Linked DNA regions of Homo sapiens: regions 1, 3 and 4 are each linked to region 2. Evidence: promoter capture Hi-C in 16 types of primary human blood cells and fetal thymus (Javierre and others, 2016). All regions are on one chromosome and are shown on one strand. Each heading gives the region's core, a stretch centred on a gene start or on the middle of the fragment in contact. The rest is flanking DNA. Distances are from core to core; before and after follow the strand shown.

What was found. Contacts are between HindIII fragments. The CHiCAGO score rates a contact against its expected background, and 5 or more counts as called.
Region 1: a contact is called between a fragment that was not itself captured here and the fragment with the promoter of EPRS1 in region 2, in 1 of 17 cell types (total B cells). The highest score is 5.1, in total B cells.
Region 3: a fragment that was not itself captured here is called in contact with the fragment with the promoter of EPRS1 in region 2 in 1 of 17 cell types (total CD8 T cells); the score reaches 8.2 in total CD8 T cells.
Region 4: a contact is called between the fragment with the promoter of COP1 here and the fragment with the promoter of EPRS1 in region 2, in 1 of 17 cell types (total CD4 T cells). The highest score is 7.7, in total CD4 T cells.

What each region holds. Positions count from the first base shown.
Region 1 is chr1:184,748,814-184,751,945 of GRCh38, reverse strand. It overlaps EDEM3 (ER degradation enhancing alpha-mannosidase like protein 3), which reads left to right. Exons shown (of 20, transcript NM_025191.4): 2 at 2,354-2,399. Among named protein-coding and RNA genes, the nearest start is that of EDEM3, 4.5 kb to the left of the region's middle. The HindIII fragment of the contact is 1,638 bases long and covers 542-2,179 here.
Region 2 is chr1:220,045,085-220,047,879 of GRCh38, reverse strand. EPRS1 (glutamyl-prolyl-tRNA synthetase 1) reads left to right here and starts at 1,375. Exons shown (of 32, transcript NM_004446.3): 1 at 1,375-1,537. The coding sequence starts at 1,492. RefSeq lists enhancers at 1,164-1,233, 1,294-1,623, 1,665-2,222. The HindIII fragment of the contact is 10,455 bases long and covers 1-2,795 here.
Region 3 is chr1:186,359,997-186,362,998 of GRCh38, reverse strand. TPR (translocated promoter region, nuclear basket protein) reads left to right here. Exons shown (of 51, transcript NM_003292.3): 6 at 1-162; 7 at 619-711; 8 at 1,130-1,210; 9 at 1,290-1,377; 10 at 2,094-2,234; 11 at 2,635-2,726. Among named protein-coding and RNA genes, the nearest start is that of TPR, 14 kb to the left of the region's middle. The HindIII fragment of the contact is 3,545 bases long and covers 1-3,002 here.
Region 4 is chr1:176,205,830-176,208,900 of GRCh38, reverse strand. COP1 (COP1 E3 ubiquitin ligase) reads left to right here and starts at 1,615. Exons shown (of 20, transcript NM_022457.7): 1 at 1,615-2,329. The coding sequence starts at 1,923. COP1-DT (COP1 divergent transcript) reads right to left here and starts at 1,236. Exons shown (of 5, transcript NR_185981.1): 1 at 1,030-1,236. RefSeq lists an enhancer at 1,008-1,077 and silencers at 1,578-1,787, 1,818-2,177. The HindIII fragment of the contact is 7,879 bases long and covers 1-2,757 here.

The DNA.
Region 1 (3,132 bases), core at 111-2,610, about 35 Mb after region 2:
CCCCTTCTCTACTAAAAACACAAAATTAGCCAGGTGTGGTGGCGCATGCCCTTAATCCCAGCTACTCGGGAGGCTGAGGCAGGAAGAATCGCTTGAACCTGGAGGCGAAGGTTGCAGCGAGCAGAGATCGTGCCATTGCACTCCAGCCCGGGCAACAAGAGCAAAACTCTGTCTCAAAAAAAGAGAAAAAGCCGACTTACAGAAATTACTGAAGAGTGGTGTAATTTTTGAACTGGGTCTGATTTCCAATACATTTTAATCCAGTTTTTGAATAGATAAAACATTATGGAAATTTTTTTTTCTGTTCAGTATAGTAATTATTATACCATTCTGTATTTAAATGTGACTTTGTTAGGCTTCTATGTGTAAGAGCAATGATATTAAATAGCTCCACTTTGAAATATGTGTTCTAAAATTTGCTCATCATATGCTGCATAAATGTAAGGATTGGAAAATAGTGTATTCTCCTTGTATGCAATCATGATTTACTTACAGTCTTGAAAATTGAATGCTTGTAAAGTTGAGTTAGCAAGTTAAAGCTTATGTCATTTGTAATATACATGTCTAGGCACTACCATTGCCAATTATAGGAATTTCTACTTCTTGGTAATAATCTCGTATTCCATTTCAGGGAAGGAAAAAAAAGAGGACTTCCATCTTCCATTCATTGATATGAGTTCCTGAAAGGGACATTTTAAACTTTTTTTTTTCTGCTTAGGACAGGATAAGAGTCTAGAGCTGTAAACCACAAATATAAAAATTATATATATATAAACATATATATATATGTAAACTTACAAAGAATTAGTGCTTTAGCAAAGTGGTGGTAAGGTCTTTTTTTAAATAATGAAATGTTTTTAAGTGGTTATTATTCATATGTTGTCAGGACTTAATTCGTTCACAAGTTTGAGTGTACTTGATTTTGTTGGTGTTCATAGTCAGGATCTGGAACTGAGGTCTTTTCTGTTTGCTAGCTCTATTATTACCAGTATTTCATAATCTGTGATTATAGTTTTAAAAATGACAATTGCAGTATAACAGGAGGCAAATAAAAATATAGTCAGCAATTTCTTTAACACTTTTTTCAATTCTTGCCATCAGTGATTGGAACTTTGGTAAAAGAAAAGTTAATAGGCCGGGCGTGGTAACTCACACCTGTAATCCCAGCACTTTGGGAGGCTGAGGCGGGTGGATCACATGAGGTCAGGAGTTCGAGACCAGCCTGGCCAACGTGGTAAAACCCTGTCTCTACTGAAAATGCAAAAATTAGCCAGGCATGGTGGCAGACGCCTGTAATCCCAGCTACTCGGGAGGCTGAGGCAGGAGAATCGCTTGAACCTGGGAGGTGAAGGTTGCAGTGAGCTGAGATCGTGCCACTGCACTCTAGCCTAGGTGTGACAGAGTGAGACCCTGTCTCAAAAAAAAAAGAAAAAGTTAATAAAAAATTGTTAAGCTGTGTTTTCCTTTGCTAATTATTTGGCCTTGTCTGGTCATACAATTAACTTGTACTTTTTCCTGTAGTCCTCAAGTCCCTGAACTTGAGAGTGCTTAATTGAAAGGCTGCTTCCTCAGTCGCAACCTTACAGGTTTTGATTTAGTAAAATTCTGGTGTAGTGATCAGACATCTCCATTTTAAACAGTGGTTACGGAGATTTTGTGAAACAGAATTCGCCAAAACACACAACTCTCTTTTTGAGCATTAGTTTTCTCATTTTGGAAGTGAATACTATTTATTTGATTTTTGACAGTTTTTTTAGAGTAGAGCACATCATAAAAAGTATCTTTTGAAAATATGACAAACATTAATAAATATGTACTTAAACTAGGCATTAGTGGTTTATTCAATGTAAGTGCAAAGGCAGAGGCTTCATAAAGCGTTGTTATTTCATGTCACTACACACCTGTGTACCTCTCTCTTAGTAGAACATATAGGGGAAGCAATAAATGGCAATAATAATGGTTTTTTTAAAGGGCTGTCCAGCAAAACCCCCGCTTCAAGACAGATACGTTAAATAATTGTGTTAAGAGGTCATTGTTTTTCTGCATCAGATTTCCTTCTCTGATGATGGCATCTATCATTCATCAGTTTTCTTAGGAAAAATTATAAGATGAATTGTACATAAATTACTAGTAATCATTAAAGTTTGGCTCAGCTCTGTGTGGTGAGTTCATGAAAGCTTGTCTGCTAGCTGTTGTAGTTTCTGATTCTGTTTATGTCCCTTTCTACCTAAATTTTTCTTTTGTTTTTATTGGTATATTTTTTATGAGGAAGAATTAACTTTTTGAAAGATAATAAATAGAATATACTTACCTTTTTTTTTTTTTTTTTCCATTTCTGCTCTTTTAAAATTAGGAATCAAGTACTGGAAATGTTTGATCATGCTTATGGTAACTATATGGTAAGTAGGAAGCTTATCTTTACCTACCATTTATGTGAGTTGATTATTATGTGAGCACAGTCAACTGGGAATTTTGAAACCTACAATACAATTACATTTTTTAAAAGGAAGTTTTTAAAAAACAGGGCAAAAATAGTCTTTCTGGTAGTGGTTTTTAGGGAACCAGTTTATTGAACAGATAAGAATAAATTGAAATTAGATTATGAAACTTCATTATTTAAACAGCTTCCTTGGGTGCCATCAACAATTATCATTGAGTGCTTTATATAGCTAGATATTGTGGATATATACATGAAGATGTTATCTCTGGTCTTAAGGGAGATTATTCTCTTAATTTAAAAAAATGTTTACAATATTTATACACTGAAGAAAACCATTGCTTAAAAGAGAAATTGTTACTTAGCCTCTGTCCTAATTGTATCCTCATGGACTCTGCACTGAATATATTTTGCTTTTTAGTTTGCTGATTCATATTATTTAAAAATGTTTTAGGGCTCACTTAAGATTAAATAGCAGTTTCAGTTTTACAAGATGAAAAGTTCTGGAGATCTGTTGTGCAACAACGTAGATGAAATAGCAAATTCTGGAATTCAAAAAAAATTTTGCACATAAATTGTAATTTGAAAAGAGTTTAAGCATATTATCCTGAAACTTATCCCTTATAACCTTGTTTTTACATTTTAAAATATGTCAGCAGATTTTCTTCTATGATTACAACGTATAAAATGTAGTT
Region 2 (2,795 bases), core at 126-2,625:
GGATTTGAAAGGGAGAATCAGATGAGACGCTGAAAAAAACACCTGTGGACTCCATGATTGGGGGCGGCATCGGAGGGTTTTTTTGTTTTGTTTTTTAGATCAGGTCTCTCCCTGTGTCGGCCAGGCTGGAGGGTAGTGGCTACTCACAGGCAAGTCCACGGCGAGGCCACTACAGCCTCATCTTCCTGGGCTCAGGCGATCCTGCCTCAGCCTTCTTAATAGCTGAGACTACAGGAGCGCGCCACTGCGCCTATCTGCAGTGATTTTTTGTTTGTTTTGAAACGGGGTCTCAGTCTGTCGCCCAGGCTGGAGTGCAGTGCCGCGATCTCGGCTCACCGCAACCTCCTCCTCCCGGGTTCAAGCGATTCTCCTGCCTCAGCTCCCCAAGTAGCTAGGATTAAAGGTGCGCGCTACCATTCCCGGCTAATTTTTGTACTTTTAGTAGAGACCCCCGTCTCTACAGTTTCACCATGTTGGTGAAGCTGGTCTCCAACTCCTGACCTCGAGATCCGCTCGCCTCCGGCCTCCCAAAGTGCTGGGATTACAGGCCTGAGCCACCGCGCCCGGCCTCTGCTGTGATTTTTTTTTTTTTTCTTTTCGAGAAGGAGTCTCACTCTGTCGCCCAGGCTGGATGCAGTAGCACGATCTCGGCTCACTGCAACCTCCACCTCCCAGGTTCAAGCGATTCTCCTGCCTCAGCCTCCCAAGTAGCTGGGATTACAGGGGCCCACCACCATGCCAGGCTAATTTTTGTATTTTTAGTAGAGATGGGGTTTCACCATGCTGGCCAGACTGGTCTCGAACTCCTGACCTCAGGTGATCCGCCCGCCTACACCTTCTAAAGTGCTGAGATTACAGGCGTGAGCCACCACGCCCGGCCTGCAGTGATTTTTAAAGAGTCTTTTATATTTCCTTTAACCATTATTTTCAACACGCAAATAACTCTTGAAAATACGTTCTTGTTTTGGAAAAAAAAAAACGGGGGGGAATGTATAAAATAAACAACGAGAAAAACTTCTCCCATTCCCAACGTAATCATGGCTATCGTGTGTATGCTTCCAGGACTTTTCTTTTTACATAAAGACAGTGCATGCTTTTGTTTCGTGCTTCACATAAACGCCTATCCCATCTTAAAGATGGTTTTACAACCTGCTGTTTTACGACCTGCTGACTTGACGAAGTGTCGTAAAGTCCCGTCCACTTCAGCGTCTTTCCCACCGCAGCACGAAAGGCCACGCAGGCCGTTCTAACCCTGGCGGCCAAGAGGAGGGGTAGCAGGCTCTGGAACCTGCGGGCGGGGACGAAGACGGCGCGCGACGATGTCGCACCGCGGCGTGCGCGGTGTCGGCAGTAGCTGCGGCGCAGGGGCGGAGCGAAGGCTGCGGCGGCGTCGGGTACGCGCACACGTTGCATCTTCTTCCTTTCGCGGGGTCCTCCGTAGTTCTGGCACGAGCCAGGCGTACTGACAGGTGGACCAGCGGACTGGTGGAGATGGCGACGCTCTCTCTGACCGTGAATTCAGGAGACCCTCCGCTAGGTAAGGGGCCGAGACCAATGACCTGTGTGGGTTGCATCAGCCAGGGAGGGTGCAGGGCGTGGAAGGTCGCTGCGCCCCGGCTTTGCGCAGTGGTGGTCACCATCTGGGATGTTGGACCTGCCCCTCGCCCCAGAATTGTACGTGGAGGAGGCTCCGCACCCCTCGCCCCGTGTCCCCGGCAGGTGCATCTGCTCCTGAAGATGGTTTTCCCGGGCATGGAGGGAGGCGCAGTGTGAGCCCGGGCTAGACAACACGAGACTCCGCTTCGGATCTTTTTCTCAGAGGGATGAACTCCCAGTCAACTCACCTCTCCCTTTTTCCCCCGGAGAGCGAGAGTTGCTCGTGGAAATAAGATTTTAAAACTTAAAATCCAATAGTCGTCGCTTCTCTTTTAGCATTTTTCCCCCAACTCCTTTTCTTACCTCCTTTCCTGTCCTGTCCCTCCTCTCAGGAGAAATCCTCAGTTCACTTGAGTCAAATTTTCCTTACGTTTTATCGAGTTCAGAAGAAATAACCCAGACGAGCATATTAGCATTTAGGATTTCAACTGAGGCTGCATTTATTTTTAATTAAATGTGGTAGGGTAATTGGGGAAAACACCCAGGTACACTGTAGACTGATGCGGTTGCTTTTACTGCACCCTGTGGATGTGTAGTAAATTTCAGAGTAAACATTGGATCTGTCACCTTACTGACACATCTTAAGTTCTGTTTGGAATTATTTTTTCGACATGACCAAGATTATTGTTGGTAGATTGCTTAGAATTTCTGCTTTTTCATTACTTTGGGAAATTACACAGAAGAATTTAAGTAGTTTGCCGATTTTTTTTTTTCTTTTGAGAGTCAGGGTCTTGCTCTATCGTCCAGGCTGGAGTGCAGTGGCGCTTTCAAGGCTCACTGCAGCATCGAACTTCCGGGCTCAGATGATCCTCCCACCTCAGCCTCCTTAGTAGCTGGGACTACAGGCGCGTGCCACCATGCCTGGCTAATTTTGTGTTTGTGTCTTTTTTGGAAAGATGGCGTTTCACTGTGTTGCCCAGGCAGGTCTCAAACTCCTGGGCTCAAGCCATCCTGACTTGGCCTCCCAAAGTACTAGGATTACAGGCGTGAGCCACAGTACCCAGCCTGACCTAATATTTGTTAATGCATATGTATGATAATACACACACAGTACTTTCTAATGTTGAAGAAGCCCATACCTTTATATACAGTTGACCACGTGGGGCTGATGAAATTATTCATTATATTCTCAACTTTGG
Region 3 (3,002 bases), core at 163-2,662, about 34 Mb after region 2:
CGAGAAAAACGCTTGGAGCAAGAAAAGGAATTGCTACATAGTCAGAATACATGGCTGAATACAGAGTTGAAAACCAAAACTGATGAACTTCTGGCTCTTGGAAGAGAAAAAGGGAATGAGATTCTAGAGCTTAAATGTAATCTTGAAAATAAAAAAGAAGAGGTAAGTTAGTAAAATTGTGTTTTTCTTCATGTTGAGTATAACTTACATTTGTATGTCAGTTTATTAAATATGTATTCAGTAGTGTGTACCTGATTAGTTGTAAGATGAGTGGTTAAATGTGAATAATGCATTACATTTGGCGTAAAAAATCAACCAATTGCGTTTACATAAAGAATTTAAGATTCTTTGTCAAATCTGGTTAGTATCTACTGTCTTACGATATATCTTTCCTAAAATATGTGTTTGTTTAAGAAGTGGTGGTAAGTTTTTGTGAGCTAAATCTAAACATTGTTCTGTGAGCAGTTACTCTTAGTTTTCTTAAATATGCATATTTTAATTGCTTTTTCAGGTGGGGAGGGGGAGTTACTTAGCTTTTCCTTAGCAGCATAAACCTCATGTCAGAGTAATTTCAGTTAATATGACATCCTTTCCCCCTGCTCTATTTTTTGTTTTTAGGTTTCTAGACTGGAAGAACAAATGAATGGCTTAAAAACATCAAATGAACATCTTCAAAAGCATGTGGAGGATCTGTTGACCAAATTAAAAGAGGTATATATGACCATTAAAATGTCTTTTTTACAAAATACTAAAGCACTTACGAAGCTGTTATTTCACAAAATGATGTCATTTTTTAATCTGTCCTTGGCCCCATAAAACAGTGAGAGTCCTCCTTCCATATGCTGTAGCTAGGCTAAAATAGAATCAGAAATAGCAATTATATGTTATATTGAAAATACTATCTAAAAAATGAGTATGGGTTAATTTTATTGTTTAATTATTTTACTTTGAATTTAAAATATTAGTAATATTTTATCCTTAATTTATCTTTGTCATGAAGACTGATTTGAATTTGAGTGTTTTAGATTTAGCTCTTACTTTACAAAAATGGAATTTTTCATCTTGTCATTTGATAAGCATTCTAAATTTAGTTCAAAGTAGACTGCTATAATTGGGCTATTTTTTTCAGGCCAAGGAACAACAGGCCAGTATGGAAGAGAAATTCCACAATGAATTAAATGCCCACATAAAACTTTCTAATTTGTACAAGGTAAATATCCCACCACACATGTTAGTATCTAAATGTTGCATTGTTGACTGTTAGGTAACTTTTTAAGATTAACTTTTAGAGTGCCGCTGATGACTCAGAAGCAAAGAGCAATGAACTAACCCGGGCAGTAGAGGAACTACACAAACTTTTGAAAGAAGCTGGTGAAGGTAAGTGTTTTCAGTTATGGGAACATTATTTTTGTTATTGTACTCTTTTTTTTTTTTTACCCTTGTTTTGTATAGATGATTGGATTTAGGTGTTAGACTTTATTTGGGACAGAATTAGGTACAGAAGAAAGAACTTTGGATTAGGAAATTCAGAATTATATCTTAAGCAAATGTAAGTTTATATATTTTTGAAAATACAGACAGCAGGGGGTTTTGTTTGTTTTTTATCTAATAATCTTGTATAATTTGCTGATTTCTAATGAGAAAGTTTTCTTTTTTGAAACATTTACTCTGATAATGTTTGAATACTCTTACTTTATAAATAAGACATCCTCTTTATTTGCATTTTGTAAAGTCTTTTATTTCCTCAAATTTTTGCTTTTTTCAATGTATTATATTTATGGTCTTTTCCAATAATTTCCTTTACTTAGGATTAAAGATCAAAATCGAAATCAAAGATATACCTAGAACCACTTTTTACCCTTTGGGTTTCCTTATTTTCTTTGTGGGTAAGAGACATCAAAAGGAGAAACACCAGGCGAAGACAATTCCAAAATTATAAGTAGAGCAAGAACTTTCAATAGATACTGTCAGCTGAAGCCTCTCTAGAAATTTAATATTATCTGCTGAGGGGAGAAGTGACTGATCTGTTGCATTTTGTAAACTAAAATTTTAACTGTATGTTTGAATATTTGGTCTTTAAAATTGTTTTTTAGCCAACAAAGCAATACAAGATCATCTTCTAGAGGTGGAGCAATCCAAAGATCAAATGGAAAAAGAAATGCTTGAGAAAATAGGGAGATTGGAGAAGGAATTAGAGAATGCAAATGACCTTCTTTCTGCCACAAAACGTAAAGGTATGGCTAATAGATGCTTGTTAGTGAGTTGAAATACTACAGCTTTCCTACATAAAAGTCATTTAATTTCACTAATAGTATTTATCTGTCATGCTGTGATGTAGGAAACTCCATCGAGTTATATTAATAGAATTTGTTTTAAAATTAATACTCTTACCTGTATCTTTACAGAATCGGGCATATAAATACCATTTGATCACACACAGTCTTGTAAATTCCCAGGTTATTGCATGATTTTTTAGAATTAGATGTGTTACATGACTTTTTGATGTCATGTATTTAAAATTTTTATAGGAATTACTATATAATGTACAGTACATGTCACTTACCTTGAAAAATTATTAATGGCTTTTAGTTTGGAATTTTACAAATTATACTAGATGTGTATTTGTTGGCACAGGAGCCATATTGTCTGAAGAAGAGCTTGCCGCCATGTCTCCTACTGCAGCAGCTGTAGCTAAGATAGTGAAACCTGGGATGAAACTAACTGAGGTAAGAATGGTATTAAATGTTGTTAAATTCTTTTTCTTCAGCAAATGTATACAAATCTCTTCAAAATTTAATTCTCCCAAAACTTATTTTTAAAATCATCTTATAATTAGTGGATCATTCTAGGAAAGGCTTTCTTTGGTTCCTAGTGCTGTGTAACTAACATAGTAAACATTGCCATTTTGTGTTAGTGTTAAAGAATGTTTATTATGAAACTAGATCAACTAAATATTTGCGTTGTTATGGTTAGATTTGAAACAACCCTTTGTCTACTTTCAG
Region 4 (3,071 bases), core at 366-2,865, about 44 Mb after region 2:
CGTCATGTTGGCCAGGCTGGTCTCGAACTCCTGACCTCAGGTGATCCACTCGCCTTGGCCTCCCAAAGTGTTGGAATTATGGGCCTCAGCCACCGCACCTGGCCAAAAGCCACAATCTTACACAAAAAATACTTCCGCAAAAACATCTGCCCAGCAACTTCCTGTCCAGTTTCCGACTGGTGTCACCTTGTTATTGATCTTCGTAGCCAAGGATAACGGTTTAAAAACAATTATGTAATTCTCATTTTTTTTTAAATTTTAAAAACCTTTGCCTTCCTTTACCTCCTTGAATACGCACGTAGTTTACTAAGTCATGAGTATTTTCACACTTTATTCCCAAATAAATATATAAGAATCATAGAATGATAGAATTGAAAAGGATAAAATCACACAGTTGTTTCTAACTCCCACCCCTTAGAATGCGGCAAATGAAAAAAATTTTTTTTTTTGAGACAGGGTCTCTGTCTCACAGGCTGGAGTGTAGGGATCTCCGCTCCCTACAGCCTCAACCTCCCCAGCTCAAGCAATCCTCCCATGTCAGCCTCCCGAGTAGCTGGGACTACAGGCCTGCTGCCACCATGCCCAGCTAATTTTTTGTACTTTTTGTAGAGACGGGGTTTCGCTATCTTGCCCAGGCTGGTCTCTAACCTCAGGTTCAGCCTGATCCTCACCTCCAGGCTCAGGTGATCCGACCCCCTAGGCCTCCCAAGGTGCTGCGATGACAGGCATGAGCCACCGCGCCCGCCTATAATCAATTTTCAATATTCTAAAAAAGCCTACCAGAAATTGTATATTTTCTGGTGGTATTAAATGCTAGGTTTCCTTGTTTTGTGCTAGAATTATATCAGATCCACAATAAACCTAGGTTCCGACTGAGCTGGGTCTGATTGAGCAAAATCTGTTTTCCCATTATTGTTATGTTCAATTTGGCAAACAGCTTTTCAAAATATAGGAGTGAAGTCGTGGTCGAACTAATAAAATTGGTAACACTTGCTACAATGTTTGCAATTCGCAGAAAACTTCACTGACTTCATCTTAACTTATTCCTCACAAAGCTGTGGAATCACCATCAGTAGAGCAGGAGTCGTTGGCTCAATGCAGTGCTGTCTGCAACCGCTCGGAGCTTCTAGGTTCTTTCCGTGGGTCTCCAGCTTATGAGCACCTACATTCCGCGATTCGGAAGCACCTGCCTACCCCTCAGAAGAGAGAGACAGCTCCTTCTTCCCGTTCCGGAATGTGGTGCGTTCGCACGCATGCGTGACACGGCTACTCCGCGCTTGCGCCGATATTCTCCGCTTGGGGCGGATACCCTGGGTGACCCGTGAGCGTCCGCGCCCGGCGCGCGCCTGCGCAGTCGCTTTTCGAGAGTTTCCGCCCGCTACGTTCCCGTCTTTCAAACCACCCCACCACCTATACCATTCATTCCAGTCTCCTCAATTCTTTCACTGTATTAAGACGGCCTGCCCTCTGGCACGTTTTCTGGAACGAAAGCGGCTTGGGACAGACAGACTCCCTTCGCCAGGGAGCCCCGACCCCGAGGGCGCGCCCTGAGCGTCTGAGCGCAGCCCCGCTGCGTCCCCAGTTGTATCCCCCGCCACGCCCGCCTCTTCCGCCGCTCGCGCGCGCGCGCACGGCCGGCCACGGCGCGCCGGGGTTGGCTGCTACAGGGACCGCGGTGGCGGCGGCGGCCTCGACAGCGGTAGTGCCTTCTACTCCGCTTTTTTAGTTTCCTCCGCCCCCTCCCGTGGGACGCTGTTGTGTGGCTGCCTTAAAAAAAAACGCAACTTTATTGTTCCTCAGCCCCACCTCCGGCTCGGCGGGCGTCCTCAGGATGCACTGAGGCTGAGGGGAGGGGAGGCGGCGGAGGGTCGAGGTCGCGGTCCCTCTCCTCCGAGCGCCCGGCTGGAGGGGAGGGAGTCACGATGTCTGGTAGCCGCCAGGCCGGGTCGGGCTCCGCTGGGACAAGCCCCGGGTCCTCGGCGGCCTCCTCGGTGACTTCCGCCTCCTCGTCTTTATCCTCTTCCCCGTCGCCGCCTTCCGTGGCGGTTTCGGCGGCAGCGCTGGTGTCCGGCGGGGTGGCCCAGGCCGCCGGCTCGGGCGGCCTCGGGGGCCCGGTGCGGCCTGTGTTGGTGGCGCCCGCCGTATCGGGTAGCGGCGGCGGGGCGGTGTCCACGGGCCTGTCCCGGCACAGCTGCGCGGCCAGGCCCAGCGCCGGCGTAGGAGGCAGCAGCTCCAGCCTAGGCAGCGGCAGCAGGAAGCGACCTCTCCTCGCCCCCCTCTGCAACGGGCTCATCAACTCCTACGAGGACAAAAGCAACGACTTCGTATGGTGGGTTTGAAGAGCACTCCCTCCTTGTCCCTAAATTATGAGTTTCTGCCGCTTAGGCTTGGGGGCGGGGGGTCTGGTGTGGGGGTGGCTTGTTGGAGAGCTTGGGATACTGGTGCTGTGGTGGTGTCTGCAGAGGGAATCGAGCGTTTGCAGGCATTCGAGCTCCTGGTTGGTGGGGTGAAGGAATGTTGGAGTAGCGAGGCAGGGTGGGGATAATAAAGAGGTAGGTAAGTGTTGCTGAGGAGGAAGTGAAGGGAGTTTAACGAATGACGAGGGAAGAGGTGGAAGGTCAAATAAATGGTTTTGGATAACAAAGTTGGCAGAGAGGTTGAGTCTTAAAATTTTTGCCTCTCTGATGAATTGAACACTCAGTCAATCAGGAGTCCTTGTTGAGATGAATGAAATTTGCAAATGGAGAGGACTAAGCTTCCTCGGATGCAGAGGGGTGGAGTTGGTCAAAATTTATTTGAAGTATGGTAGATGATGCTGTAAACATAAGCATGGATGTCTTATAAAGACATGCTTTTTATAATAATGTAAGTACCTATCGTATGTATGTGTAAATATCTTCTTCCATTTCAAAGGATGGGCCACTTAGGAATCGGCTGTTGAGACGACTGTAGTCAAAGTCTGTTAACAGATTTTTCACTTCTCCACCAAGTGTCTTGAAAAGAGAGAACCACGTTTGTTAAATAACATCCCTGTGTCAGATGTAACTGTACTATACTGGATAACAGAGTAT